6 separate regions of the Homo sapiens genome follow, and regions 1, 2, 3, 5 and 6 are each linked to region 4. Evidence: promoter capture Hi-C in 16 types of primary human blood cells and fetal thymus (Javierre and others, 2016). All regions are on one chromosome and are shown on one strand. Each heading gives the region's core, a stretch centred on a gene start or on the middle of the fragment in contact. The rest is flanking DNA. Distances are from core to core; before and after follow the strand shown.

Region 1 (4,606 bases), core at 366-2,865, 1.3 Mb after region 4:
CAGGCTGGTCTCAAACTCCTGGCCTCAAGAGATCCACCCTCCTTGGCCTCCCAAAGTGCTGGAATTCCAGGAATGAGCCACAGTGCCTGGTCTCTATTTTATTAATTTATTTTATTTTATTTTATTTTTGAGACAGGGTCTCACTTTGTCACCCAGGCTGGAGCACAGTGGTGAGATCTCAGCTCACTGCAGCCTTGACCTCTGAAGACTCAGGTGATCCTCCTACCTCAGCCTCCCCAAGTAGTAAGTGGGACAACAGGCGCACACCACCACACCTGACAATTTTTGTATTTTTTGTAGAGACAGGGTTTCGCCATGTTGCCCAGGCTGGTCTGGAACTCCTGGGCTCAAGGAATCCACCCGCCTTGACTTCCCAAATGCTGGGATTACAGGCGTGAGCCACCAAGTCTGGCCCAAGACAATTTCTTGTTTTATTTTTCTTTTTTACTTTTGCTTTTGGGTGGGGACAGGGTCTCACTTTGTCACCCAGGCTGGAGAGCAGTGGCCCGATTGCACCTCACTGCAGCCTTGGCCTCATGGGCTCAAGCGATCCTCCCATCTCAGCCCCCCAAGAAACTGGGACTACAGGCACGTGCCACCACGCTTGGCTAATTTTTTGTACTTTTTGTAGAGACGAGGTTTCGCCCTGTTGCCCAGGCTGGAATTTCTCATTTTAAACACAAAACAGATACAAAAGCAAAAGTTCTCCTCCCATACCTCAGTGGACTGTCTTACTCGATTCTCCCTTGGAAACCACTTTCGTAGACCACTGAGCCACCCTCTTGTTTTCCCCTTGGACCCATTTTGCTCATGGAGGCGCCCTGTCTAGTTCCTACCCAGATAGGCCTTGACTTGGTTTTGCACATTCTATCTCTGCCTGCGCTTAGCTCTAGACCTCACGACCTGTTTGTTGGGCGAGTTGCTTCCCTAAGCCCCGATTTCTCATCTGTAAAACGAATGATAGTGTATCTACCTTATGGGATTCCTATGGCAATTACGTAAGGTAGTGCATGTAAAGATGCTAAGTGGCTGGCTACGGTGGCTCACACCTGTAATCCCAGCACTTTGGGAGGCCGAGGTGGGCAGATCATTTGAAGTCAGGAGTTCAAGACCAGCCTGGCCAACATGGTGAAACCCAGTCTCTACTAAAAATACAAAAATTAGGCCGGGCATGGTGGCTCACGCCTGTAATCCCAGCACTTTGGGAGGCCGAGGTGGGCGGATCACAAGGTCAAGAGATCGAGACCATCTGGCCAGCATGGTGAAATACCATCTCTACTAAAAATACAAAAATTAGCTGGGCGTGGTGGCGTGCACCTATAGTCCCAGCTACTCGGGAGGCTGAGGCAGGAGAATCACTTGAACCTGGGACGCCGAGGTTGTAGTGAGCCGAGATCGCACCACTGCACTCCAGCCTGGGCGACAGAGTAGGACTCCGTCTCAAAAAAAAAAGAAAAAGACGCTAAGTGAAGGTAGCTGTTTGCCATTCCTACCATCTGGATGGGCTCTGGCCACTTTAGGGCCCTGAGAGCCCGGCTGTCGAGGCCCCGCCCCGGCCCGCTCTTTGTGACGCGTGGGCGGTGCCCGCGTGCGCCCCGCCCCGCGCCTGCGGCTCTCTCTGCGGCTTGGCCCGTTAGAGGCGGCTTGTGTCCACGGGACGCGGGCGGATCTTCTCCGGCCATGAGGAAGCCAGCCGCTGGCTTCCTTCCCTCACTCCTGAAGGGTGAGAGGTTTACACCTGCTCCAACAGACTCTCCCCGGGCTAGTCCTCTCCCTCCCGAGAGCTCTGCTTTTACGGTTTCTGGATCGCTTCCTCATGGTGGTCGCGCTGGGTCGGCTCCCTAGGTCCTGGGATACTCCCATCTCCCCCCGCCCGCGGCCGGACCTTTGCCTCTGTCTCTAGACTCCCCCCGCCCTGGTCAGCAGGGATAACCCTCACCCCGTTCCTAATTTGCCAGTCTGGGTCTGTCTGTCCTGGTCTCGGAGCGGGTTTTGGGGTTCGGTCCTTCCATCATCCGTTCGCCCGCTCCGCAGTGCTGCTCCTGCCTCTGGCACCTGCCGCAGCCCAGGATTCGACTCAGGCCTCCACTCCAGGCAGCCCTCTCTCTCCTACCGAATACGAACGCTTCTTCGCACTGCTGACTCCAACCTGGAAGGCAGAGACTACCTGCCGTCTCCGTGCAACCCACGGCTGCCGGAATCCCACACTCGTCCAGCTGGACCAATATGAAAACCACGGCTTAGTGCCCGATGGTGAGGGCCAGACTAGGGGGGAAACCGAGGCACCCAGAGTGTTCACCCAAACCTCAGGGCAAAAACCCCTGTGCTCATGTGAGGCGGGGAAGGGCATGGCTGGCACCACACCATGAGCTCGTACTCTCCACCCTCCCCATGGCGTGGAGTCCATTGCCCACAGCCCCACCCCAAGCTCCCCACGGGTTCATCTTCTCCACCCCTGCCCTTTCTCAGGTGCTGTCTGCTCCAACCTCCCTTATGCCTCCTGGTTTGAGTCTTTCTGCCAGTTCACTCACTACCGTTGCTCCAACCACGTCTACTATGCCAAGGTGAGGCCCAGGACAAAGGTTGGATTTGGTGCCCCAGGGCCAAGGGAGAGGCGGCAGCAGTGGGGAGTTGAGGAAGGGTTCCAGGAGAGTCATCCTTAGCTCCTCCTTCCCTGCCATTTTGCCAGTCATTTACCCAGATTATATATGAATACAGTCTCACCTTGGATATTCAGATTGAACAATTCTGTTACTGCAAGAAAAGTAGAGAAGAGACTGGGCATGGTGGCTCATGCCTGTAATCTCAGCACTTTGGGAGCCCGAGATGGGCAGATCACCTGAAGTCAGGAGTTCGAGACCAGCCTGGCCAACATGGTGAAACCCCGTTTCTACTAAAAATACAAAAAAAAAAAAAAAAAATAGCCGGGCTTGGTGATGGGCGCCTGTAATCCCAGCTACTCGGGAGGCTGAGGCAGGAGAATTGCTTGAACCCGGGAGGCAAAGGTTGCAGTAAGCCGAGATCATGCCACTGCACCCTATCCTGAGTGGCAGAGCAAGACTGTGTCTCAAAAAAAAACAACAACAGGGACGAGTGCGGTGGCTCACGCCTGTAATCCCAGCACTTTGGGAGGCCGAGGCAGGCAGATCATGAGGTCAGGAGATCGAGACCATCCTGGCTAACACGGTGAAACTCTGTCTCTACTAAAAATACAAAAAATTAGCTGGGCGTGGTGGCAGGCGCCTGTAGTCCCAGCTACTCGAGAGACTGAGGCAGGAGAATGGCGTGAACCCGGGAGGTGGGGCTTGCAGTGAGCCGAGATCGCGCCACTGCACTCCAGCCTGGGTGACAGAGTGAGACTCCGTCTCAAAAAAAAAAAACAAAAAAAACAAACCCAAAACCCAAACAAAAAGAAGTAGGGAAGAGGGATGGGAAGAGGCAAAGAGATAAGCCCTTACGTTTCTTCGAACAGGTCAGTGATTTTGAGTCAAATGCAAAAGTGACGGCAGGGATGTGGCCCAGACAAACAGAGATTCATCTTCTGAAGGGACCCTTTCTCAGGTCTAGAGGGTTCCAGCAGGGACCATGTCCCTTTATCCCTGCCTAGAAACTGAGAGATAAGACATGCTGGAAAAGGGGTTGAAGAACCAGCTGGAGCAGAAGTCTGCCCTTTAGGAAAGGCTTTCCCATTTTCCTTCTCTTCCTGCAGAGAGTCCTGTGTTCCCAGCCAGTCTCTATTCTCTCACCTAACACTCTCAAGGAGATAGAAGCTTCAGCTGAAGTCTCACCCACCACGATGACCTCCCCCATCTCACCCCACTTCACAGGTGAGACCCTCTCAGCAGCCGGGAGACCACCAGCTACTCCCACAACTCCCAGAGCCCACAACGTAAGGCATCCATGGCAGGGAAATGGGAAGCATGTTGGGCGGGAAGGGGGCGCCAGCAGACAGCTGTTTACACAAAGGAGTGTCAGCTTTTTATGAATACAAGTTAGGGCTCTCCTGGACCAGAATCTCTTCTGCCATTACTTACAATTTTGCCCTGAATCCATTTTTCCCAATTCCAGAGACATTGTTGCATTACAAAGGACCTCTAGGCCCTTTATAAGCTAATGTCTTCACTTTAGAAAGGATTGACTGCTAGCTACTCAGCATACTTGGTGTTTCCTAAGGGAGAGGGACAAATGGTGGTATTTGAGGTGGAAGTTAGGGAAGGAGGAGTGCTTGCCAGGGAGGTGGGAAGGTGATGCATACCACCAGCCTTACAGTTGCCGTGGTAATGTTCTTTTAGTTTAATACTTATGTTCTTTTCTGTGTTTTTCTGTGTGTATAAGTGTGACTTGGTCTGCTTTGTTTATGTGTGTGTCCCTCTGTGAACAAAGACACTCAGGGGCTAGAAGCCTGACTGTCTCTCTCCCTTCTCTCTAAACCCTGCTGTAGTGACAGAACGCCAGACCTTCCAGCCCTGGCCTGAGAGGCTCAGCAACAACGTGGAAGAGCTCCTACAATCCTCCTTGTCCCTGGGAGGCCAGGAGCAAGCGCCAGAGCACAAGCAGGAGCAAGGAGTGGAGCACAGGCAGGAGCCGACACAAGAACACAAGCAGG
Region 2 (4,498 bases), core at 1,624-4,123, 1.6 Mb after region 4:
TCAGGAGTTTGAGACCAGCCTGGCTAACACGGTGAAACCCCGTCTCTACTAAATACAAAAAATTAGCCGGGCATGATGGCACATGCCTATAATCCTAGCTACTCGGGAGGCTGAGGCAGGAGAATTGCTTGAATCCGGGAGTCAGAGGTTGCAGTGAGCCGAGATTGTGCCACTGCACTTCAGCCTGGGCAACAAGAGTGAAACTCTATCAAAAAAAAAAATAGGACATTGAAGTTGGTTTCTTTTTTTGATACAGAGTCTCGCTCTGTCACCCAGGCTGGAGTGCACTGGCAGGATCTCGGCTCACTGCAACCTCTGCCTCCTGGGTTCAAGCAATTCTCCTGCCTCAGCCTCCTGAGTAGCTGGGATTACAGGCACGCGCCACCACGCCTGGCTAATTTTGTATATTTAGTAGAGACAGGGTTTCACCATGTTGGTCAGGTTGGTCTCGAACTCCTGACCTTGTGATCCGCCCACCTCAGCCTCCCAAAGTGCTGGGATTGCAGGCGTGAGCCACCGCACTCTGCTTTTTTTTTTTTTTTTTGCCGCCCTCTCACATACCATACTCCCCTGTATCACTTATCCTTCTGAAGTTGTTATTAATCATTAATACAACTAGCTGGGCATAGTGGTGTGCGATGGTAGTCTTAGCCACTCGGAAGGCTGATGTGGGAGGCTAGCTTGAGGCCAGTAGTTCTAGGTTAGGTGAGCTATGATTGCACCATTGCACTTTAGCCTGGGTGAGAGCAAGCTCCTGTTTCAAAAAAAAAATTAATTGCTACCACTTACTAAATGCTTAATATATGGCAAACACTTGCCAAACACTTTATATGCTTGATTTAAGCATCAAGCTAGCTCTGTGAAGGGTACCAGCAGGTTTCCCATTTTTTAGATGAGCAGACCGAGGTTCTTCTCGCTGCTTCATACTGGAAACTTGCACTTGATTCTGAGGCTCCTGCTTCTTCAAGAACACTGCTTTGGGTTCGCTTCTCCTGTCCCTGGGGTCTCCCTTTGTGATGGTGGTGAGCTGCTTCCTTTCTGAATCCAGCTTCAACCCTACAGTTCTCCAGAAGCTGGACGATGGGGTGGAGTAAAGTCAGCTCCCCCCGCAGTGAGGGACACTGAAGCTCCATTCTCATCTGCGGATCACAGAGGGGAAGCCAGGAAGAGCCAGGGGACGGTGGACTTGGGGCTGGGAGGTCATCTCAGAGGGATAAGGGGTGAGGAGCTCTGGTTTCAAGTTCCAAAGCCCTAGGACCTCCCTCTTCTCTGTCTGCCTGCATTTCTAGCAGCCTCAGCAGCTGCAGGCCCTTGGGCGGGGCTGGATGTAGGGAAGGTCATTGTACCAAGAAGATAGTTGGGTAAATGTGGTACCTTTGTTGTAGGATTCTCTTGGGAGATGTCTGCATCAATGAGGATGGCATAAAGTAACCAGAGTCAGGATGTGGGGTCTGACTCAGTGACAGAAAAAGTGGCAGTGTGTCTCTCATAGCCAAAGGGGCCCTTGGACCGGCAGTCGGGAGTCTGGGGTTCTCTGTTGGCTCTGCCTCCTGGCACATTGGGTTTCTGGACCTCAGTTTTCTCCTCTATAAAACCGGGCAGTTGGGTGGGCACGGTGGCTCACACCTGTAATCCTAGCACTTTAGGAGGCTGAGGTGGGCAGATCATTTGGGCCCAGGAGTTCAAGACCTGCCTGTGTAACATGGTGAGACCCTGTCTCTACAAAAAATACAAAAATTACCCAGGCGTGGTGGTATGCACCTATAGTCCCAGCTGCTTGGGAGGCTGAGGTGGGAGGATTACTTGAACCTGGGAGGTCGAGGCTGCAGTGAGCTGCGATGGTACCACTGCACTCCAGCCTGGGAAACGGAGCGGACCCTCAAAACAAAAACAAAAATGAAAAACAAGCAAACGAAGAAATAAAAAAACCTAGGGGGTTGTAGTCGATGATCTGTAAGGTGAGTTATAATTGATGTATTGGAATATTTAGGAAAAGGGCACTGGGAATATGCTAGGAACACCTGATGGAGGTATCTTTATTTCCACGGCAGCTTCGTGGATACGTCTCATTGATTCTCATGGCATCACTTTCCCCATGTAGGTGGGCAGACATTGTTACCCCTGTTTAATAAACAAGGAACCAACAGAGGCTTAGGAGAGGAGTTGCCTGATGTCGCATGATTGGTGGCAGAGCCAGGATCAACAGTGGGGCAGGGTGGGGGGACCTGGCCAGGCAGAGACTGGATGAGACCTGGGGTGAGGAATGGCAGGCACCCAGTCAGGGCAGAAAACGAGGGTTGGGACTTACTTTGAGTTTTGGATTGGATCAGTAAATTCCCAAGAAAGAGGGAGACTAGGAGGCTAGTGAAGAACTCTGGAGTAAAGGGGAGGATTACTAAGGGACATGGAGTACCTATCATGTGTCGGACGCTTATCTATATCTCTCCCATCTGAACAAATCCTTACAGGAACCCCAGGAGACAGGTTATCTCCACTCTGCAAATTGGAAAACAGATCCAGACAGTTTCAGTTATGTGTCTGAGAAGTTCATTTATGTGTCCAAGACACATTCTTAGCTAAAAAGCTAAGCATTCTGAATTGGAACCCAGAGAATTTGACTCCCAGACTCTGGATCTTTTCACTGCTGTGATCCATCTGGGAAAGGCTAGTGATGTGGGCAAGGGGCTTATTGCCCCTTGGTGTTTGGTTGGGAGTGGTCGGATTGGTGGGTTGGGGGCACAAGGCAGCCAGATCTGGGACTCCTGTGCTTGTGACTGGACTACAAAGAGTTAAAGAACGTTGGGCCTCCTCCTCCCGCCTCCTGTGGCCTCCTCCTCCAGCTCTTCCTGTCCCGCTGTTGCAACACTGCCTCACTCTTCCCCTCCCACCTTCTCTCCCCTCCTCTCTGCTTTAATTTTCTCAGAATTCTCTGGACTGAGGCTCCAGTTCTGGCCTTTGGGGTTCAAGATCACTGGGACCAGGCCGTGATCTCTATGCCCGAGTCTCAACCCTCAACTGTCACCCCAAGGCACTTGGGACGTCCTGGACAGACCGAGTCCCGGGAAGCCCCAGCACTGCCGCTGCCACACTGCCCTGAGCCCAAATGGGGGAGTGAGAGGCCATAGCTGTCTGGCATGGGCCTCTCCACCGTGCCTGACCTGCTGCTGCCACTGGTGAGACCAGGGACAAAGGGAAGAGTGGGCTGGTGGGCGAGGCACCTTCCGGCTGGCGTGGGCCCTCTCCGGGAGGGGGCCGAGCCTCTCCTGCCCGGGCCTGGTCCTGGCGCCAGCCTCAGGCCTGCAGGTCCTAACCTCAGCCACTGCCAGTGTGGGGTTCCCCATTCATCCGCCTTTTGGAGTAGGGGCTGCGCTGAGGCAGGGGAATGGGAGAAGTTTGAAAGGGAGAGAGTAAAAGGAAGCCCTGGCCCCTGACAGCGGTGGAAGTTTGTGGGCGGCCAAGGGAATGTGGGCAGGAGATAGGCCCAGGGTGGGGCAGATTTGGCGGGGAAAAGAAGGGAGTGGGAGTAGGAAGATTAGTGCTCGGGGAGTCCAGACGGTTCTGAATTCTGTCCCTCCGGTCAGCTGGCTGGCCTGGAGGGTGTTGGGCCGTGGGGAGGCGAGGCTGCCTGTGGAACTTGGTGGAGCACACCCTGTAGGGCAGGATTTTGGCGGCTGGTGAAGTGGGGGAGTGAGTTGAGGAGTGGGGATGGGCTGGTGTGGTGGGTTTGGGATGCTCATGGTGGGAGGTATTTGAGAATGGGCTGGGACACTGGATGGGGCAGGGCAACCCAGTGGACAGTGTCCCCAGTGCCCTGGCCAAGCCCCGGCCTCTCACCTGGGGACATTCTTTACCCTTTTGCCTGCTGCTAGGCAGGTAGCCGCTGTGGGACTGAGCCTTCCCAGGGAGCTAGTCCTACCCCCACCTGGTCAGTGTCCCTGGGCCTGTCCTCCAGCTTCCCCTCCCCGCTGCTTCTCACAGACCTAAACAACAATCCCTTGGTTTCTTATTCTACAGTTCAGTTTGGGGAAGTTGGTAGAAAGTTGTTTTCGTCACTGGAAAATGTCCCTTTCTCTGGCCTCAGCCTTGTTTCAATGTATCCTTGATCGTCCTCCACGTCTTGGTCCGGGAATCATCCTGTTCAGATGTCCTGGGCCCATCTAGTCAGGCAGATTTTCCCTGCCCTGCCCGGCCTCTGAAGGCTGCGCCTACCTCCCCTCTCTTTAGTGCCTTATACTCTTCCTCTCCTACCATTCCTTTCTTCCAGCAATCTCCCCAGACTCTCCTCAGACTTCTCAGAGCCTCTTTTTTTGAAATCTTTTCTCGCTAATCCTCCTTCCCCTCCTCTCTGCTCCGCTCTGGTCCCGGCCCCAGGTCCCCAGGCAGCACGTCTCTGGTCAGGGTCTCACTCTTCTTCTTCTGCCTCCTCCTGCCTCCTTAGTCCCACCCGCTCTTCCCTTCTTCCCACTGTCCTTCCCCCACGGTCTCCCCACCAGCCAGC
Region 3 (4,904 bases), core at 35-2,534, 1.4 Mb after region 4:
CCTAAATTACAGTCCTCCAAGAAAGTTGCTTTCCTCAGGCAGAATGCCCCTCCCAAGGGCACAGACACACAAACACCGGCTGTGTTATCCCCATCCAAGACTCAGGCCACCCTGAAACCTAAGGACCATCATCAGCCCCTTGGAAGGGCCAAGGGGGTTGAGAAGCAGCAGTTGCCAGAGCAGCCTTTTGAGAAAGCTGCCTTCCAGAAACAGAATGATACCCCCAAGGGGCCTCAGCCTCCCACTGTGTCTCCCATCCGTTCCAGCCGCCCCCCACCAGCAAAGAGGAAGAAATCTCAGTCCAGGGGCAACAGCCAGCTGCTGCTATCTTAGATGGTTGAAAACTAGACGGGTGGCTCACTGCCATTGTCACCAGGTTGGAACTCTTGCCTCTGTGAGGATGCCTTCTCTACTGTGCATACCCATGAAATTTAATACACATTTTAAAACCTCTGGCCACTGAGTATTTTTGAGGGAACTGGGTGCTGCCTTTGCCGCTTTAAGGGTAAAGATGGGAGGTGGGACTGGGATCTTCTGAGGAGAGGGAATGGTTGGGTGCTACTGAGAAATAAGGTCAGTTTTAGGCTCCTGCATCCTTGGGTTTTCCCAGGAAGGGAAAGCCCTGGAGTCAGAGCTAGGGGTGATTGAACTCCGGGGAGAGGAGGGCAATAGAAGTGTAGGGGAAGGCGGGGCACACTAGCTCATGCCTGTAATCCCAGCACTTTCTGGGAGGCCAAGGCGGGTGGATCACCTGAGGTCAGGTGTTCGAGACCAGCCTGGCTAACATGGCGAAACCTCGTCTCTACTAAAAATACAAAAAATCAGCCGGGTGTGGTGGCGGGTGCCTGTAATCCCAGCTACTCGGGAGACTGAAGCAGGAGAATCGCTTGAACCTGGGAGGCTGAGGTTGCAGTGAGCCAAGATCGCGCCACTGCACTCCAGCCCGGGCGACAGTGAGACTCGGTCTCAAAAAAAAAAAAAGTCGTGTAGGGGAGATGGGCTTGCCACCAGAACCCATGGGGTACTGGAGGTCCTGGGCTTTACGCCACCCCGGCTGGAGTCCAGGCGGTGGCTCCCCTCATCACAGGGCTCGGCCTCAGACCCGGAAAGGTCCAGGGTCCGGCCTCCAATTGGAGCCTGTCATTGGCTTCCCCTCGGCCCGCCCCCTGACCTCTGCCCCGCTGCCGAGCCGCCTGATTGGTCGGCTCTGTCCCGCCGGCGCCGCATTGGCTCTTCTGGCTCGCCTTCCATCCCTGCTCCTGCACCGGTCTGCATCTCCCAGCAGAAGGCGCAGCCATGAATCCGTTATTCGGCCCCAACCTCTTCCTCCTGCAGCAGGAGCAGCAGGGCCTGGCCGGGCCACTGGGGGACTCACTGGGAGGCGACCACTTCGCCGGGGGAGGAGACTTGCCCCCGGCGCCTCTCTCGCCGGCCGGCCCTGCTGCCTACTCGCCGCCCGGGCCGGGCCCGGCCCCGCCTGCCGCCATGGCCCTCCGCAATGACCTGGGCTCCAACATCAACGTGCTCAAGACCCTGAACCTCCGGTTCCGCTGCTTCCTGGCCAAGGTGCATGAGCTGGAGCGCCGGAACCGGCTGTTGGAGAAGCAACTGCAGCAAGCGCTGGAGGAGGGTAAGCAGGGCCGGCGGGGCCTGGGTCGTCGCGACCAGGCAGTGCAGACCGGCTTCGTCAGCCCCATCCGGCCCCTGGGGCTGCAGCTGGGCGCCCGGCCGGCCGCTGTCTGCAGCCCTTCGGCGCGCGTGCTGGGCTCGCCCGCGCGCTCCCCGGCCGGCCCCCTCGCGCCCTCCGCGGCCAGCCTCTCGTCGTCCTCCACCTCCACCTCCACCACCTATTCCTCGTCGGCCCGCTTCATGCCCGGCACCATCTGGTCGTTCTCGCACGCCCGCCGGCTCGGGCCGGGACTGGAGCCCACTCTGGTGCAAGGGCCTGGCTTGTCGTGGGTGCACCCGGATGGGGTGGGCGTCCAGATCGACACCATCACGCCCGAGATCCGCGCTCTCTACAACGTGCTGGCCAAAGTGAAGCGGGAGCGGGACGAGTACAAGCGGAGGTAGGGATTGGGAAAGGGGGACAGGTCTCTCTGTGTCATACCACTCACAACGGGCCGCGAGTTGGTGTGGGTTCCGAAGAATCAGGGGTGAAAAGAATGAGAGTAAAGTTTGTGCTGTGTAATGAGGAGCTTGGAAGCAATTGGATGCAGGGAGACTAGAATCCGCAGAGAATGCAGAAGCCCTGCTCGTGACAGGAAGAAGGACGCTGGGAGCGGAACACGGGGGGATTCCTACTTTTCCGGCTTGTCTCTGCCATCCAGGCTTAACTGCGGGTTTTGTGCGGTGTGAAAGGGACTGGGGCTCTGCCCTACCGGTCTCAGCCCTGGGGCAGGTTAGGGATATAAACTTCAAAAGTAGGAGGCAAGGATATAGCGTAAATTTGGGAGACTAAATTGAGTGAAACTGGAAGGGGCTGGTGAGGGAGGGGCTGTACCTTGCAACGAGTGATTCTTTCACACCCCAAGGTTTCCCAAAGAATATTGATGGAAACCAGGTACCTGCTGTGGTTTCATAGGAAAAGCTCCGGGACCTCAAGCCATTGCTTGAGTAGGTCAACAAACTGGGAAAAGAAAGAGTGAAGGGAATTCACTAGGGTGAGGGTGGAGAGCAGGGCTGACAGGGGAATCTTGGCAGTATAAAGCGCCAGTGGGGAGGGAGAGTGGAGAGCCAGCAGGGGACTGAGCAGGGAGAAGCTGGGATATGGGCCCTCCCTAGGACCGCGAGGCCGCGGGGCGGGCCCGGTGCATTCTGTGGATGAAGATTTGGCTGTCTGAGAGGAGCCCGGCCCCAAGGGGCAAGGGAAAGGGATGTGATGCCAGGAGTGCTGGCTGTATACCAAGTGGATTCCTTAGATGGCTGATAACCAAGCCGATAGGACAGGAGTGAGAGCAGAGGTAGTGTCTTGCAGACTCCAACCCAAGCCTTGAGGAGGGAGCGGGTGACTGACAGGCTTTGGTTTGGCGGCCTCCCCTCTCATCTCAGCTATTATGACCCCTTGTGGGCGGGCCTGGGAACTACCTATGCAGCCCAGTGTGGCGGAGATTCAGCACTGGGTGAGGATTGGCCGAATGTTCTAGGAAATGACCGCTGGGTCTAGGGGCGACCTTCAGGGATCTCCACCCTGCTGGAGTTTACCAGATCACAGATCAGCAGGCTTTCTTTTTTTTTTTTTCCCATAAATGATAATATTTTATTATAGAAAAAGCATCCCAAATACAGGATTTCGTAAACACTGGTAGGTGAACAAGTGCAATTTTAGAAGTAAATGCAAAGTAAAGAGGCAAAACCTACAAGCATTTTGCCTTCAGAAGAAGATGTAGTGTTCTCCTGCACTAGTGATCCCACCCAGAACACAAATGTGGCTCTGTCTCCCGTGAAAGCATCAGATTTGCTTTCTGAGCTCAGTATGCCCATTTCAATAATTGCAAAGTGATGGCAAGAAGTGGCGTTGAACACATGACTACAGACCCTTGACTTAAAATATTGAGACAGGGACTTGCTCTGTCATCCGGGCTGGAGTGCAGTAGCGTCATCACAGCTCACTGCAGCCTCATCCTCCTGGGCTCAAGCAATCATCCTGCCTCAGCCTCTTGAGTAGCTGGGACTACAGGTGTGCACTACCATGTCCATGCCTGGCTATTTTTTTTTTTTCTTTTTGCGTTGTCCAGGCCAGTCTCAAACTCCTGACCTGATCAGCAGGCTTTCTGAGCTTGAGTCCTGTCCTCGTGCTGGCTTCCTTAGTTGTGGTCCATGTTATGTGTCCTTGGGAGTTTCAGTTGTCCTGAAATCATCGTTCTGCCACCCAGAACCAGCCTGCTCTGCCCCTGCAGGAGTTAACTACGCGCTCAGCAGTGGCACAGGCACAGTTCTGGAATACATCCATAACCACAGGAACAACTGCTGTTCTCAGGAGCATTTTTTTTTTAAACTGAAGGAGCGTTTGTCCTTGGTCCAGCTGTCCAGGACAGGAAGGAGTTATTCCTTGGGGACTGATTAGCTCATCGCTCTGCAGCACGCTGCTGTGTAGAGAGCCTTAGCTGGATTCGGATGGTGCGTGATACTGGCAGTGACTCTTCTTCCTCCCTAGATTCCCTGCCCTCATTCTGGTCTCTTTATAGCAACACTGTAACTCCTGTCTTCTGCCTGGAAGGCCTGGGATGGCTTGAGCGCTACACTGGGAGGTAGCTAAAGGCCTCCTGCGTTCTATTTTCAGCTCCCCTGCCTTGTGCGTGACCTTTTTTTGAGCCCCCATTTTCCCAACATAGGAATGGTCCCTGCTTTCTCTCTTCAACCCAGGGATACAGTTTTTTGGAAGAGAGATATTTGGTCCATGCAGAACACATGGATATCGCTCTCAAATTCTGCCCATGTTAAGGGAACCTTATAAGTGAGACCAGATGGAAATGGAGGTGAAAATGAACCTGTCTGTGTGAAGTCTGGCCAAAGAACAAATAGAACTGTAGTGGGCTTCCAGATGATTCATTTGTAGATTTTTTTTACCCTGTAAGATTTCCTTAGGCTTAACCTTTAGCTATAACTGCCTTACTTAAGTTTCTTCCAGGCTCTGTTGAGCTCACTGTCAGATAGCCCCTCCTGCCCTCTTTCACACATCTTGTCCAGGGTTAGCGTGCCCTTGACAGGCTTACTGTCTCCCTCCAGGGACTCGTGGGCTCCCGGCGCATGAGGGCACCACAGTTCATGCCTTCACATCATAGATGAAGAAACCAAGACCCAGAAAAGATAAGGGTCTTAGCTAAGAAAACATAATCTGATGCGACTGGTTCCCTTAGTGGCCTGACTGTATGCATGAGAATGCCAGGGAGGAGGGGAGAAGC
Region 4 (4,515 bases), core at 500-2,999:
GTATAGCTTAGTAATCAGATACTTATGTAACACTTTTCTTTCAAGAAACTCACAGTCCATAACTAATAGGATATTAATAATCTTTTCCAGTTATGTGAGAATTACTTGCCCTAGTCCCTTTTTATACTTTATAAAAAGGGAAGAAGGGAAACACTATAAATGACTTGTGGGTCAGAACTCTTTTGTCCTATTATTCTTTTTTTTTTTTTTTTTTGAGACGGATTCTTGCTCTGTCGCCCAGGCTGGAGTGCAGTGGCGCTGTCTTGGCTCACTGCAAGCTCCGCCTGCCGCGTTCACGCCATTCTCCTGTCTCAGCCTCCCGAGTAGCTGGGACTGCAGGCGCCCGCCACCATGCCCGGCTAATTTTTTTTTTTTTTTTTTTTTTTTTTGTATTTTTAGTAGAGAATGGTTTCACCGTGTTAGCCAGGATGGTCTTGATCTCCTGACCTCGTGATCCGCCCACCTCGGCCTCCCAAAGTGCTGGGATTACAGGCGTGAGCCACCGCGCCCGGCCTTTTTTTCTATTATTCACTGAAGAATCACCAGCTTCTTGGAGAGTACCTGATACATAGCGTGTATTCGGCAAATACCTGCTTAATTGAATTCGGTATTTATTGCATTTCTAGATGCTATAAGCTTGAGACTAGCAGAAAGTGATGCAGAATTCAGAATGGGTGATATGGCAAATGCCTTATTAAATATAGGGCTCGGCGCGGTGGCTCACACTTGTAATCCCAGCACTTTGGGAGGCCAAGGCGGGCAGATCACAAGGTCAGGAGTTTGAGACCAGCCTGGCCAATATGGTGAAACCCCGTCTTTACTAAAAATACAAAAATTAGCGGGGCGTGGTGGCGGGCGCCTATAGTCCCAGCTACTCGGGAGGCTGAGGCAGGAGAATTGCTTGAACCCGGGAGGCGGAGGTTGCAGTGAGCCGAGATCGCACCACTGCACTCCAGCCTGGGCGACAGAGAGAGACTCCATATCAAAAAAAAAAAAAAAAAAAAAAAAAGGATATGGATTGTATTCCATAAACAGTTGAACCTCTTATTCCTACTGCCCTGATAGTTGGTCTGGCTCCTAGAAATTCAGATTTTCTTCCCTCCAGGTGAGATTATGCGAAGAAAGGAACACTGGCAAAATTATTTCCCTGATTTTCTTCTCTCAGGCTGTCTTTCCCTCCCCTTTAAGATTGTGTACTCCGTCTCAAAAAAAAAAGAAAAAAAAAAGATTGTAGACCCAGCCTATAAATTCATAGGATCAAGAATTCTTACTAACACTCTTTCTAACAACCTTAAATCTCTGATAGTAGCACCCACTTGACTTCGTTTTGTATGGATAGATTTATTCTAATCTCTCTGTAGATTGTTTTAATCCCAAGCAGATGCGAGAGCATAAAATAGTGTATTTGCCCTCCCTCCAGGCTTTTCTGGTAGTATTTTGTCTGTGAAACTAAGAGGCTCTAGCTGCTATTAGAAGAGGGAAGGAGTAAGGATGAGCTTTTGAAAAAAAAAAAAAAAAAAAAACCCAGGGTGGAGAGAGTGGAAGGATGTGGTTTTAAGAGAGGGGGGAGGGAGGGCGTTATTGTCTGTGGGGCGGGGGCGGGGGTAGTTCTGATAACACAGAATTCCGAGAGATCACAAGATTGCTTCAGGGGGGTGGGGTGGGGTGGGGTGGGGCTGGGGGCTTGTCGCCCTTTCAGGCTCCACCCTTTGCGGAGATTATAAATAGTCATGATCCCAGCGAGACCCAGAGATGCTGTAATGGTAAGACTTTGGATCCTTCCTGAGGACGTGGAGAAAACTTGCTGCTGAGAAGGACATTTTGAAGGTTTTGTTGGCTGAAAAAGCTGTTTCTGGAATCACCCCTAGATCTTTCTTGAAGACTTGAATTAGATTACAGCGATGGGGACACAGAAGGTAAGAATGATATAATTACTGGTTATTTTTGCTTGTTTGGGATACACTCAGAAAGGCAAATATTAATGGTAATCTCCTTGTTCTATTTTCTCCTAAGTCACCAAGCTATCTTAAGGCCTTTTCATTTCGTCTCTAGCCTGCACTGCTGCCGCTTCATCAGTTCTCTTTGAATGTCATACAGTTCTGTTCACCTTATCATAGGAAAGTCACCCGGAGAAGTTGTGTTTGCTTCTCAGGTTTATTTTAGGTAACCATATGCCACTGAGGACGAGATGGTTGAGTGTTTAGAGGATCGGGCTGCTTGGTTGTATGGATTACAAGTGTGGGTCTCAGAGCCAGTGTGAAGACTTCTCTGGAAGCATTAGACCTTGAAAAGGTCTGTGTTTGGAGGCACAGGCCAGGGTCTGGCCATCTGTTTGTCCTATAACATATGGGGTTCGTGGATGCTAAGGAGAAAGAATTCCAGTTGTCCTTCCTATTAGGGTTAAAATCGTGAGTGCAGGACATACTAAAATATTGAGTGTTGTATATGCATTATTTGCAGGGAGAAAGGCTTTTCTTTTTTTTCTGATTGAGTTTTACTCTTGTTGCCCAGGCTGGAGTGCAATGGAGCGACCGCAGCTCACCACAGCCTCCGCCTCCCGGGTTCAAGCGATTCTCCTGCCTCAGCCTCCTGAGTAGCTGAGATTACAGGCATGAACCACCGGGCCCGGCTAATTTTGTATTTTTAGTAGAGACGGGGTTTCTCTATGTTGGTCAGGCTGGTCTCGACTCCCGACCTCAGGCGATCCGCCGGCCTCGGCCTCCCAAGGTGCTGAGATTACAGGCATGAGCCACTGCGCGCAGCAAGAAAGGCATTTTTTACCAAGATAAATTTAACTAAAAATAAGGGGCCAGGTGTGGTGGGTCACACCTATAACCCCAGCATTTGGGAAACCAAGGCAGGAGGATCACATGAGGCCTGGAGTTTGAGACTAGCCTTGGGCAATATAGTGAGATCCCATCTCTACAAAGCAGAAAGAAAGAAAATGTAGGAAAATAAGAAAGGGATGGAAAATTATGAGACTAAAGAAGAAAAGGCTCTCAAAGATAGTGAATGATGAGAGGAGACAGAAGAGATTTTTACTAAACGGAAAAAGATTTAACAGAGCATTGCACTGGCAGGGCCCTCCGGGGTACCGATGCTTAGCTGGGACTGAGACATCTGGGAGGCTGCAGGCAAGGTCACTTCTCCTGCTGAAGCTCCCAGCCTGCTGCCTAATCTGCCCGACCTGAAAGGAAAGGAGTTTAAGATATGAAAGGTTGAAGGGATTTTGGGTGGTGGGGTGGGGGGGAATGGCGTAGAAGTTGGCCTCAGGTATAAAAATTGAGCTGCCCCAAGGTAGAAATGGAAAATGTCTCGCCCGGCTGAATTATTCCAGGCAAGGTGAAGATGACCGGTTCTCCCCACTAAGAAATGTCTCTTATATGTTGGGTTCGCCCTTATATGTTGGGTTCAGAGTAAGTACTTTCTTCCCCTGCGCGGGAGTTAGGGATAGCAGAACTGTATTTAATAAACGAAGACTGAAATGGGGCCAGGATGCAGTGAGTAGATCCAGTAGGTTACATGGTCCTGAGAGATAAGAGACTCAAAGAGCCACCCAGCAGTGAAGACACAAACTACCACCCCCTCCACCACCACCAGTGGGCTTCCGTGGAGTCTGGGGTACAGATCAGACTGCACTGTATTTGTTTCCAGAATGGTCAATTCTTAGTAATCCTACCCGAGACTGTCTTTTTCTCTGCCCTCCCAGTTCGTGAGTGGAATTCTATGCCTACATTTGCCTGATGCAAGTTTTTAAATATTTCCAAACTGACCAACCCAGTTTCTCTTAACTTCTTCCTTCCCCAATTTTCTTTCATTTTTACCAAGTTAACTTCACATTCTTATCTCCAGATAAGTTCTTTAGTATAATCTATTCCTTTGTCTTCCCCATTAATTACCTAAATCTCATTGGATGTTCTTTTCATACCACTCATAACTCAAATTCTCCTAATACAGCTCCATAATTAATAAGAAACAGTCATCAATCACAAGTTTTAAGGACTATTCTCTCCTCTGTCTTCCCTCCCTCCAGGTCACCCCAGCTCTGATATTTGCCATCACAGTTGCTACAATCGGCTCTTTCCAATTTGGCTACAACACTGGGGTCATCAATGCTCCTGAGAAGGTGAGTGCCAGGCCACAATAATTAGAATTTAGAATAGGGAAGTTATTCCTTTAAGTAGGGTTTCAGGAATTCAGAATTTAAGGCCAGGCATGGTGGCATCTGCCTGGAGTCCCAGCTACTCCTGAGGCTGAGGCTTAAAGATCACTTGAGTCCAGGAGTTAAACACCATCCTGAGCAACACAGTTAGTGAGGGTCCCTCCCCAAACTAGGGGATTTTAAGACAAACTTTGTATCTATCCTGTCCAAGACTGAAGATGGAGACAATATTGGTGGGGAAAATTAGTGGGGTCATCTAATCGAAGCACAAAGCTCACTTACTCCCGGAACGCTGGGCGGTGCTGTTCTTCCTCCCACTCTTTCACCTCATAGTGATGCACATCCTGTATTAT
Region 5 (4,914 bases), core at 217-2,716, 1.1 Mb after region 4:
CGATCTCACCTGATCTCCCCAGTAAAAGCCCCATTAGTCACTTTGTAGCAGTTCTGCGCAGCCACAGCAATCTTGGGATCTAGCTTCTGCCGGGCGAAGTCGATATAGGCAGTAGGGGGAGCACAAACCACCTCTGAGGACAAGATGGTACCACAGGGGGATGAGACTAAAGAAAGCCTTCATTCCCCACAATTCCTAACCAGTGCCCTGGAGCCCCCCAGCCCTCACCCTCTTCTTCTTGGTTCTGCTCTCCCCCTTTTCACCCCAGCAAGATGACCTTTGTCCATTTTCCAGCCCAGGCTGGGTCTGCACTCAACTCGAAGAGCCTTCCAGATACCCCTGAGAGGCCACGGCCCTCACCCTGCCCTCTGCTCTTTTAACAGCTGGGGCTCCAATTTCCTCGAGCTATTCTCGGCATAGGCACCTCACAGACTCAGCATTCTCCAGGGAGCAACCCTGCTTCCCTTCTAAAATAGCCCATCCTCACCTCCCCTTTGCAAGGCAAGGATTTGTAGCAAAAGGAGAGGGGCCAACTCCTGGGGTTTGTATTGAGGCCTCTGGGGAATGAACGAGAAGGGGATGCCTCTTTGGATCAGGCCCGCGGCTCTCCGATTTCGGTGGAGGGAGGAAGGAGGATGGAGGAGAGCATCCTTTGCCCGTGGGTGGCAGAGACCTAACTGACTCAGAGGCCTTGCGCTTTGCTGTTTCCAGGTTGGGGAAAGCGGTAGGATGGCTCCTCACTCCCAAATCGCTCAGCCTGTTTGGCACGGGCTCGGTCCCTTCCGTGGAAGGCGGGAGTCGTTCAGGTTGCCGAAGGGAAGGGGTCAGATCTGGGGCTCAGGGAGCCCGAGCAGCTCGGCGCGGGGACGCGGACGCCGGCGAGGAAGGGGAGGAGTCTGGGGCTACGTGCGGCGGCGCACGGCGCGGGAGGCCAGGGCGCAGGGAGCGGGAAGCCCACGCGGCCCAGCCTCCCCCGGTCTCCCGCAGAGCCTCGGGCTCCGCTCCTAACCCCGTCGCCTGGCGGGCACAGCCCCAGTGCGCGCCCCGGGGCCACCTTCCTCCAGGAGACCCAAAACGTCCTTACCTGCCCCATAGTCCAAGGGGCATCATGTGCTCCGCCCTGCCCCCTCGACGCACCGACGGGGCTGCGGCTGCGAGGCCCCTGCCCGGACCCCAGCGGCCCTCGTCCCACAGCCCTGCATCAGGTCCGCGCGGATACCGGCCTCGGGGCCTCGGGGCCTCGGGAGAGGGCGCTGCCACTCCTGCCCCGGCCCCGGCCCCGGCCCGGCCAGACCCCTCCTCGGCGAGGGCTTACCGGTGTCGGCCGGCACCTTGGCCGCGTTCAGAGTGCCGATGAGCTCCCCCAGACTCTGCTTCCGCCCGTTCATCTTCCAGTTTCCCCCAACGAAGAACTTCCTGGAGGGCGCCATGGCGCTGGAGCCGAGGCGCTGAAGGTCAGTGTCTGCGCGCAGTCGCGGCCACTGCCCACTTATATAGAGCGCCGCGAAGTGGAACTCCGCCTCCTCGCCGTCCTCCGCCATGGCCCGCCCAGTCCCCCGGAGCCCTGCCCCCCGCCCGCCCTCCTGCCGCCGCCCCGGCCGCCGCCCGATGATGCACTGTTCCGACGTTCCCCCTTCTTGTGGCAACGTTCTAGGAGAGTCGGGGGCTCGGTCGCCTCCGCCTCGATTGCGGGGCTTTCGGGACAAGGCGAGACCTGTGAGCTCCGGCGCTCAGGGGAACCCTCGCTTGGCGACTTGAGTCCCCCACGGGGCCAGAAGTGGTTTTCAAGCGGAACTAGCTGGTGGCAACTTGGCCGTAGCCCAGATCGCCCACTGGGGCAGAGAGGGCCCCTCTCCAACTGTGGGATAGACAACCTCCTTCGCCCATCGGAGCAGCTCATGCCCGACTGCTGAGCAGGCACCCTTGTACCCAGGGAGTCTACCTGAGTGAAAACTTGCGGGACAAATGCAGGGTTCACAGCGGGAGGGGCAGCCCACACAGGCATAGGCCGCCAGGATCATCCCAACCCTCGCCCCGGCTGGCAAGGCCTGGCAGGAACTGCAGGGACTGAGTCCCAGCCTGAAGCCAGCTAGCCAGTTAGGGACATTTGGGAAATCCTCCACTCCTGTGTGAATAAAGAGAGGGAAGGGTTCTTCACTCCATCTTTCCTTGGCTTTGTGTCGGCATTTAGTCACTCTACTCCACCTCCCCACCCAACCCCAATTTTCCTAGAGCTCTAGAACCAGTGAAAAGTGGAGACTTGACTTTGGCAGGGAGGCGGCCAGAGTTAGGAGTTTTCTTAAGCGCCCTCCTGCTAACCCCAGGAAGGTAAGCCTCTCCCCCAAGGTATCAAACAGGACACAATTTAGCCGTTGTACTTTTATTCACATCGTGTATTTTGGCATTTTCCAGAGAAGGACAAGGAAGAGACAGGGTGGGGGAAAGACTGAGGCAGGAGGGCAAGTCGGGGGGTCCCTATTTCCCTCACATCCCTCCTTGACCAACCACACAGGGGCAAACAAAGGGGGAGGGGAGGCACAGGTGATCGCTCCACTGGGAGAGGATGCACAAAGCTACACCCACGCGCACAAACGAGACCCCTCCCTCCACACCAGGGGGCTGGGCGGGGCGACACAGAGAAGCAGAGCACTGTGGATTCCGGGGGCAGGGGAAGCAACAAAGTCTCCTTACAGACAGGTGGCCGGCCCCTCCCGTCCCCGTCCTGCTCCATCCCCAGAGTCTATCGCTGCCCCTCTGCTCTGCCCAGCCATTCTCCCACGGCCTCCAGCTTCTTCCCTGCTGCCGGGGACAAAAGGAAAAAGGGTACAGAGCAGAGGGGCTGAAGTCCATCCCTCAGCCCCTCTCCCTCATGCCAGGTGGTCTTCCCCTGCCCTCATTGGTAAGGGGTGAGGCAGGCTCTTAGCTGGCCACTCTCTGGTAGAAGTAGATGTAGCCCAGGTCCTTGGGCGGCTTCTCGGAGGCACACACTTTCTGGTCATTGTAGATCACCCATCTGGGGAAGTGGGGAAAACAGAAAAGGATGAACAAACTGGGCATTCAAAGTGGCATCATGTAGTCTCTCAGACATGGCCCCTGGAAGTGCTCTCCACACTCTCTGCCCATACCCCAAATCCACAGCCCAGCCACCATGTGCCTTAAGGGAGCTTCACAACCTCACAAGGGTCACGGACCCTATTATGTCTTCAGATCCTCCAGTACCTTTACAACCACCCTCCACCCATTCCAGGGAGGCAGGGGGTTGGTAAACTTTTTCTGGCAAGGGCCAGATAGTATTTGAGGTTCTGCAGGCTCTCTCTCTGGTCTCTGACACAACGACTCAACTTTCCTGCCGCAGCGTGAAAACAGGCACAAACAACACATAAACAAGTGTGTCCAGGTTCCAGTGAAAATTTATTTACAAAGGCAGGGGGCCTGGCCAGGCACGGTAGCTCATGCCTGTAATCCTAGCACTTTGGGAGGCCGAGGCAGAAGGATCACTTGAGCTCAGGAGTTCAAGACCAGCCTGGGCAACATAGTGAGATCCCATCTCTATTTAAAAAAAAAGCTGGTGGCCAGATCCAACCCTTGGGCCAATCACTGCTGCAAGACCTTCTGTCACTCTCTGGCACTTTATGTCCCCATCAGGCAGTCCCTTCACCTTCTCCCATAGCTATCCCAAGGACTTCCAAATGGCCCTCCTCATTCCCACCACCATTCTCCATTCAAAACGCATGTGGCCAGCACTCACCTGCCTTCTTTCTTGATGTGGCAGACGTAGTGACCACACATGGTAGAGGTGCCCATGTGACTAATGAAGGCAAAGAGCTGATACTCTAGGAAAGGAGAGAGGGGGTCAGAGAAGGAAACAGAAGAGGAATGCTTGAGTGATGGCCCAAAGATCCAGACAACAGCTCAGACTCAGGACAGGAGTTTCAGGGAATGTGAGGCAGGTACTGGGCCAGAGCCTGTCTCCATGTCAGAGAACCCCACCCTCAGATGCCACGTTGAGGTGGAAAGAAGCCCCTGACTCCTGAGGAGGGCAGAGCTGCCTGAATGAGGGATCTGGTGTAGTAGACTGACCAGATTCCACCAGGCCTGTCCTGCTTCCTGGGGATACTCACTTCCAGGACCATCCCGGACTTTAGGTCCCACTGGCACAGACTCAGAGATGGAGTCGGCAGCTGAGCGGCCCTCTGAGATGTCCATGGCAGCTTCAGCATCCAGGTCGTCAATGTGACTGAAGATCCAGTCCACAGCCCGTTCTAAACTATTGTTCTTGGAGAGGAAGGAAGCATTACTTTTTTTCTTGAGACGGAGTCTTGCTCTGTCGCCCAGGCTGGAGTGCAGTGGCGCGATCTCGGCTCACTGCAAGCTCCGCCTCCCGGGTTCACGCCTTTCTCCTGCCTCAGCCTCCCAAGTAGCTGGGACTACAGACGCCCACCACCACGCTTGGTTAATTTTTTGTATTTTTCGTAGAGACGGGGTTTCACCGTGTTAGCCAGGATGGTCTTGATCTGCTGACCGCGTGATCCGCCCACCTCACCCTCCCAAAGTGCTGGGATTACAGGCGTGAGCCACCGCGCCCGGCCAAACAGAAGCATTACATTTTTAACAAGTTCTGGGGCAAAAAACCCAGCAGTGAACGCAGGCTTCAGCTCCTTCATCGCAGCCACAAAAGAGTGGTGCCCAACCTCGGCCAGACCACACCTGTTGTCTTTGGTCTTGCTCAAGAAGGATGGCCCCTCATTCCCACCCCCTTCTTCCCCACTGGCCCCATGTCCTTAGCTGGGGCAGCCCATACCGTGGCCCGCAGCGCTTTCAAGGCCTGGTCCCGGGAGAAGCCCATGGAGACAATGGTGGTCACACAGTCCTCAGGAGGGGGGTCGGCTGCTGCGCTTGTGGAGCCCGGCCCAC
Region 6 (4,507 bases), core at 144-2,643, 1.7 Mb before region 4:
GCCAAATAAGCCTAATCATTTAATAACTCTACAAGAAAGACAAGCCTTTGGAGGAGCATATCTAGGGGGTCCACCTGGAAAAATCCCAGTCATTTTTAGGCCAAAAGGCTTAATTTAGGATTTGGATTCTAGAGAAACCTGCCAAAGATGTCAAAAAGCTTAAAATACTTCCTTCAACAGATAATAAGTCACTGCTAAGAATACTACTCATTTAATCAGAGTGACAACCTAAAGACCTCAGAAAGTTACATGGATGGAAAAACTTTTACCCTTTTAAGGCTCAGTTTCCCTAAGCAGTCAAAGCCTAATAAAGACACCATGAAGCACTGGGAATTATCTTGGTAAAACACAGAATCTTTGTTTTCTAGGCCAGTGACCTTGATCAGGGGAATACATTTAATAACAACATAGGAAATCCTAGTAACAAAACAATTTTGACACATTAAGAAAAAACAACAATATAGAATCAAGTTTTGCTGAAGTAAAATGTTGCCTTTCTAGACCTTTAAGATAAATCCCAAACCAGGACTAGACAGTTCTCAGGAAGGAATGTGGCAGAAATAGGAATTAGTTTGTAATTCAGAATGGCTGTTAAGGAAACATTGCAGAATTAAAAATCAAAGCCTCTTGTAATCTTACTAAGAACAAATCAATATTTTAAGAGACTCATATTGTTTTAATGTAGGAGACCAAAATTTAAGTTTTGTATCAGTGCATCTTAACATCAAAGTTCCATTTTTTCCAACTTTTATTTTAGATGTAGGGGATACATGTGCAGGTCTGTTACTTGCAGTTTTTCCAGGGGCATGGTGGAAGCTGCTGCTGATTCCACCATTCTGGAGTCTGGAGGATGGTGGCCCTCTTCTCACAGCTCTACTAGGTAGTATCCCAGTGGGGACATAACTGGCAACTGTAGACATAATTGTTTGGCTTGCTACAAATCCATTTTCTGTTCATGTAGATTCTGCCACTGTTGACTCCATTGTCATTCAGGAAGGCACATTCTCCACTTCCTCTGATAGCAAGCCTAAATCCAAACACAAAAATATTAAATATTTGTAAGTTAGACACCTGCATTTGTTCCTCCCCATCATCTTCTGCAACCCCTCCATATTTCAATGTGAATAAGAGAAAAGCAAAAGTCTGTCATTAATATTGCTTCATAGTAATATAAACCATTTCTGTATTTAGTGTCCTTTATGTCCTCAAGGTCCTTGCTTGAAAATCACAAGCTTATCATTCATCCATACCAAGCCCAGCTATGTTGATAGGTATTTAACTGATGCTTGCTGCTGTACCCAAATGAACTGCTGCCATTGGTGGTCTTCAGTCAAGATGATTTCCAGCCTCCTCCCAAATTGTTTTGTAAATGTGTGAAAACTAAAAAAAAAAAAAAAACTAGTAAATTCCTGAAAGGGCTTAGCTTTGATTAATGGATATGACTGGGTTCCTACATTTTATCTGCTGCAATGTAATGATTATATTCAAAATACCCCTTTGAAATGTTCACAGTCCAAGGAACTGTTACTAGTTTCCTTCTGGTGATAAAGCTTTAGGAGGGAGAGATTCCCATGAGTTCCCTGGATGCTTTCCTATTGTAAATGGATGCAACACCTGCAAGAGTGGGCTTAACAGCCTTGTGGATATCAGCTCCTCAGTGGCTTCCTATGATTGTAGAACCTTTGTTGCACATCAGCTATAAGTAGGGATTTCAGCAGTTTTAAATCAGTGGATGAAAGTGTAAAATTGTGAGAAATGTCACTGTCACATTAAAGACTTCAACTGAAATCACAGGTAAAGCTTTCCCAAAGACACAGCTAACCAACTGAAGAGCATAAAAAGGGTTTAGATTTCTTACCTCATATTGCAGTAAGTTTTCCATGATACTACATTTCTTATCTCATAAACACAACTCACACACATAACCATACATAAACACAGCAAAAGATGAGAAGTCTCAAAACATACATGTTATTATATTCCATGTTGTCTGTCCATTTCCAAATGCGATGGGATGATTCTCTTCTAAGGCCAATCCAATGGTCAGAAGGGCCTTTGTATCTTTTCAGGAAATTCTATAATAAAACAGAAACTAACACCATGAGCCCCTTTCTTTCATATTACTCTGGAGTCTCTCTTCCCTATCCCTTCTCTTTTTCACTGGCAGCGTGGTATAATTAAGCAGCATAAATTCTGGAGTGAGACTAATTCCCAGTTCTCAGTTTAAGTCATTTAACGTCTCTGATCCTAAATTACTTTATTTAAAGTGAGCATAAATCCCAGTTTCATTGGGAAATTCTCAGTTTATGCTTGTCATTCCACCAATGTATTAATGATCACTTTTAATGCCCTATATGTCTTAATCTAGATGACAAATTATATAATTACCTTACTTCTTAATAGAATGAGAACAATACATCTCATCTTACCAGCTCACCATGAGCATTACATGGGGAAATATATCTAAAATGTCTCACAGGGTTCCAGGCAGAGAACACACCCTCAACAAATGTTAGACATGAAAACACATCTCATGCCCCTGGAATGGGATCCTTCTTAGTATTTCAGCTTTAACCCTATGTAGCCGACCTGCCTCAGGGGGCTAAGTATTTAACAGAAAACATGATCCAAAAATATCTCTTACCAGTTCCTCCATAGTTGCAAACTGAGCAAGGCTGGCTTCTAATGAGACACAGAACGTTTGACTCAATGTCTAATTTCTTATGCCTTCAGAAAAATAAAAACATTTACTCCTAAATCTAATTCAGCTTTTTGGGCAAGCAGCGTATTTAGATGACTCTACCACTGGCTTTTCCTTTCTTGCTAAAAGTGAGACAATCACAATGAAACATAATAAAGAAATTTTCTCACCCATTTTATCTATTTTTCTGCTTACCTTCCTGAGGTCAATTTTGAAGTGTACATATCTGATTGTTGTTTTCCTAACTCATCACAAAGTGCCTTATCCTAAGCACAACAATCGTCAGTCCGGTGGTTTCCAGCTGGGTATCTGCACCCTTGACTTTCTGAAATTTACACTGACACTAACAGTTTCAAGGAAATCAATTTCTATAGCATCGACTTCCATAGTACTGTACTTTCACAGGGTCATACGGATGATTTTTCCATATCCTCCCTCATATTAGCCCTTCTTTCTCTTGACAAAGCAATGCTGAGGACCTATTACCTCTATACAAGAGATGATTTTTTTATGTATACAGTTCTCTGTACTTTCGTGCATTCTCAATCTGCTTAAGTAGAAGATACCAGCTCTTAAGGCCAGGTGATTTGCCTGAAAACATTTCAAGTAGAGATCTTACTTTATTTTTAATAAAAAATGACAATTCTGAGAGGAACTTGTCAGGAAATAGTTCCGTAAGCGGAATTCCTATACCCATAGCCTTTCTCATATCAATGGACGGCAAATGCATTCTTGCCAAGGCTCAAAAGAAGACAGGCTTACCTTTGACATTCCTCTGAGACGTTTTATCCAATTTGACATAAAATACTGTTGGCTCAGCTTTCAAAATATCCAGAGTCTGACCACCCTCCCCTACCTAGTCTCAATATAGCAATTAAATGATTATTCTACAATGAAAGTCACATCAAGACATTCCTCTCGTACAACTTCCCTCATCTAGTCTCCCTATTGCACTGAAGGTCAAAGCCAAAGTCTTTAACTGACCCTCAAGGTTCCTCCGTTCCTGATTCCCCATGGTATCACTCTTCTTCTCCATCTTCACTTTGCTTCACCTACAGCAGCCTCCTTGCTCTTCCTCAAATAAGCCAGGAAGAGTCCTCCTTCAGGCTTTGGTCTACTTGTTCTCTGCCTGGAATAGGTTCCTTCACATGGTTCCTCCATCTCTTTCAAAAGGTTGCTGAAATGTCACCTTCCTAAGAAGGCTTAGTTTTGTCAACCTATTGCAACCTGTTATACCTCCACCCTTATTTATTTTTACTTGTGTTTTTCTGCTGGAATATAAGTTCCAAAGGGCAGGAATTCTTTTGTGTGTATTTTGTTTGCTGATGTAATTCAAGCATTTCACACAGTGACAGGCACATAATGGAGCTTAATAAATATTTATTGACAACAAAAACATATGGAGAATATTGTACAGTTTGGAGAACAAGTAACTTACCTGACAAAACAATAGAAAGTGCAATCACACTTGTAGTCAGGACTGCAATGATGAACAAGCAACAATAAACCTTGACAGGAGTTACTGGAGATATAAGTGCTAGACATTGTCTTTGCAGAGTTTTATCTGTAAAATAGAAACATCAGAATCTCAATCTCAGGAATATCGTAGGGAGAAAAAATTTATCATAGAATCAACACTAAGATCAGATGTACTTCAATTCTCCTACTGCCAACTCCTTTCACAAAAGGGCTTGGTTCATAAATGAGAATAATGGCCCAAAGAGGGCTAGAGATAAAAATCGAATTCTCCCCACCCCCAGGGAATCTTCCAGTTACTGGAAAAAGAGTAGAAATTGGGATGAAAAA

The links. Contacts are between HindIII fragments. The CHiCAGO score rates a contact against its expected background, and 5 or more counts as called.
Region 1: a contact is called between the fragment with the promoter of ACRBP here and the fragment with the promoter of SLC2A3 in region 4, in 4 of 17 cell types (neutrophils, naive CD8 T cells, monocytes and 1 more). The highest score is 8.0, in neutrophils.
Region 2: the fragment with the promoter of TNFRSF1A here is called in contact with the fragment with the promoter of SLC2A3 in region 4 in 1 of 17 cell types (non-activated CD4 T cells); the score reaches 6.4 in non-activated CD4 T cells.
Region 3: the fragment with the promoter of IFFO1 here is called in contact with the fragment with the promoter of SLC2A3 in region 4 in 1 of 17 cell types (naive CD4 T cells); the score reaches 6.2 in naive CD4 T cells.
Region 5: the fragment with the promoter of TPI1 here is called in contact with the fragment with the promoter of SLC2A3 in region 4 in 2 of 17 cell types (non-activated CD4 T cells and total CD4 T cells); the score reaches 8.3 in non-activated CD4 T cells.
Region 6: a contact is called between a fragment that was not itself captured here and the fragment with the promoter of SLC2A3 in region 4, in 1 of 17 cell types (activated CD4 T cells). The highest score is 6.2, in activated CD4 T cells.

The regions. Positions count from the first base shown.
Region 1 is chr12:6,644,441-6,649,046 of GRCh38, reverse strand. It overlaps ACRBP (acrosin binding protein), which reads left to right and starts at 1,615. Exons shown (of 10, transcript NM_032489.3): 1 at 1,615-1,723; 2 at 2,035-2,253; 3 at 2,470-2,564; 4 at 3,710-3,827; 5 at 4,442-4,606. The coding sequence starts at 1,681. RefSeq lists enhancers at 1,688-1,757, 1,681-2,194. The HindIII fragment of the contact is 16,958 bases long and covers 1-3,772 here.
Region 2 is chr12:6,340,451-6,344,948 of GRCh38, reverse strand. TNFRSF1A (TNF receptor superfamily member 1A) reads left to right here and starts at 2,873. Exons shown (of 10, transcript NM_001065.4): 1 at 2,873-3,173. The coding sequence starts at 3,135. It also overlaps the pseudogene RN7SL391P. RefSeq lists an enhancer at 2,971-3,070. The HindIII fragment of the contact is 11,725 bases long and covers 1-4,498 here.
Region 3 is chr12:6,552,422-6,557,325 of GRCh38, reverse strand. IFFO1 (intermediate filament family orphan 1) reads left to right here and starts at 1,284. Exons shown (of 10, transcript NM_001193457.2): 1 at 1,284-2,069. The coding sequence starts at 1,297. It overlaps NOP2 (NOP2 nucleolar protein), which reads left to right. Exons shown (of 16, transcript NM_001258308.2): 16 at 1-455. The coding sequence ends at 333. RefSeq lists silencers at 1,107-1,266, 1,317-1,556, 1,667-1,846 and enhancers at 2,307-2,807, 2,808-3,308. The HindIII fragment of the contact is 7,963 bases long and covers 1-4,904 here.
Region 4 is chr12:7,933,421-7,937,935 of GRCh38, reverse strand. It overlaps SLC2A3 (solute carrier family 2 member 3), which reads left to right and starts at 1,749. Exons shown (of 10, transcript NM_006931.3): 1 at 1,749-1,916; 2 at 4,034-4,126. The coding sequence starts at 1,902. RefSeq lists a silencer at 1,571-1,620 and an enhancer at 2,688-3,641. The HindIII fragment of the contact is 4,746 bases long and covers 639-4,515 here.
Region 5 is chr12:6,864,083-6,868,996 of GRCh38, reverse strand. TPI1 (triosephosphate isomerase 1) reads right to left here and starts at 1,466. Exons shown (of 7, transcript NM_000365.6): 1 at 1,316-1,466; 2 at 10-133. The coding sequence starts at 1,430. USP5 (ubiquitin specific peptidase 5) reads right to left here. Exons shown (of 20, transcript NM_001098536.2): 17 at 4,802-4,914; 18 at 4,122-4,275; 19 at 3,749-3,833; 20 at 2,365-3,013. The coding sequence ends at 2,920. RefSeq lists silencers at 860-1,299, 1,570-1,619 and enhancers at 1,889-2,550, 2,551-3,213. The HindIII fragment of the contact is 21,039 bases long and covers 1-4,914 here.
Region 6 is chr12:9,653,441-9,657,947 of GRCh38, reverse strand. It overlaps the pseudogene LOC374443. Among named protein-coding and RNA genes, the nearest start is that of CLEC2D, 14 kb to the left of the region's middle. The HindIII fragment of the contact is 318 bases long and covers 1,235-1,552 here.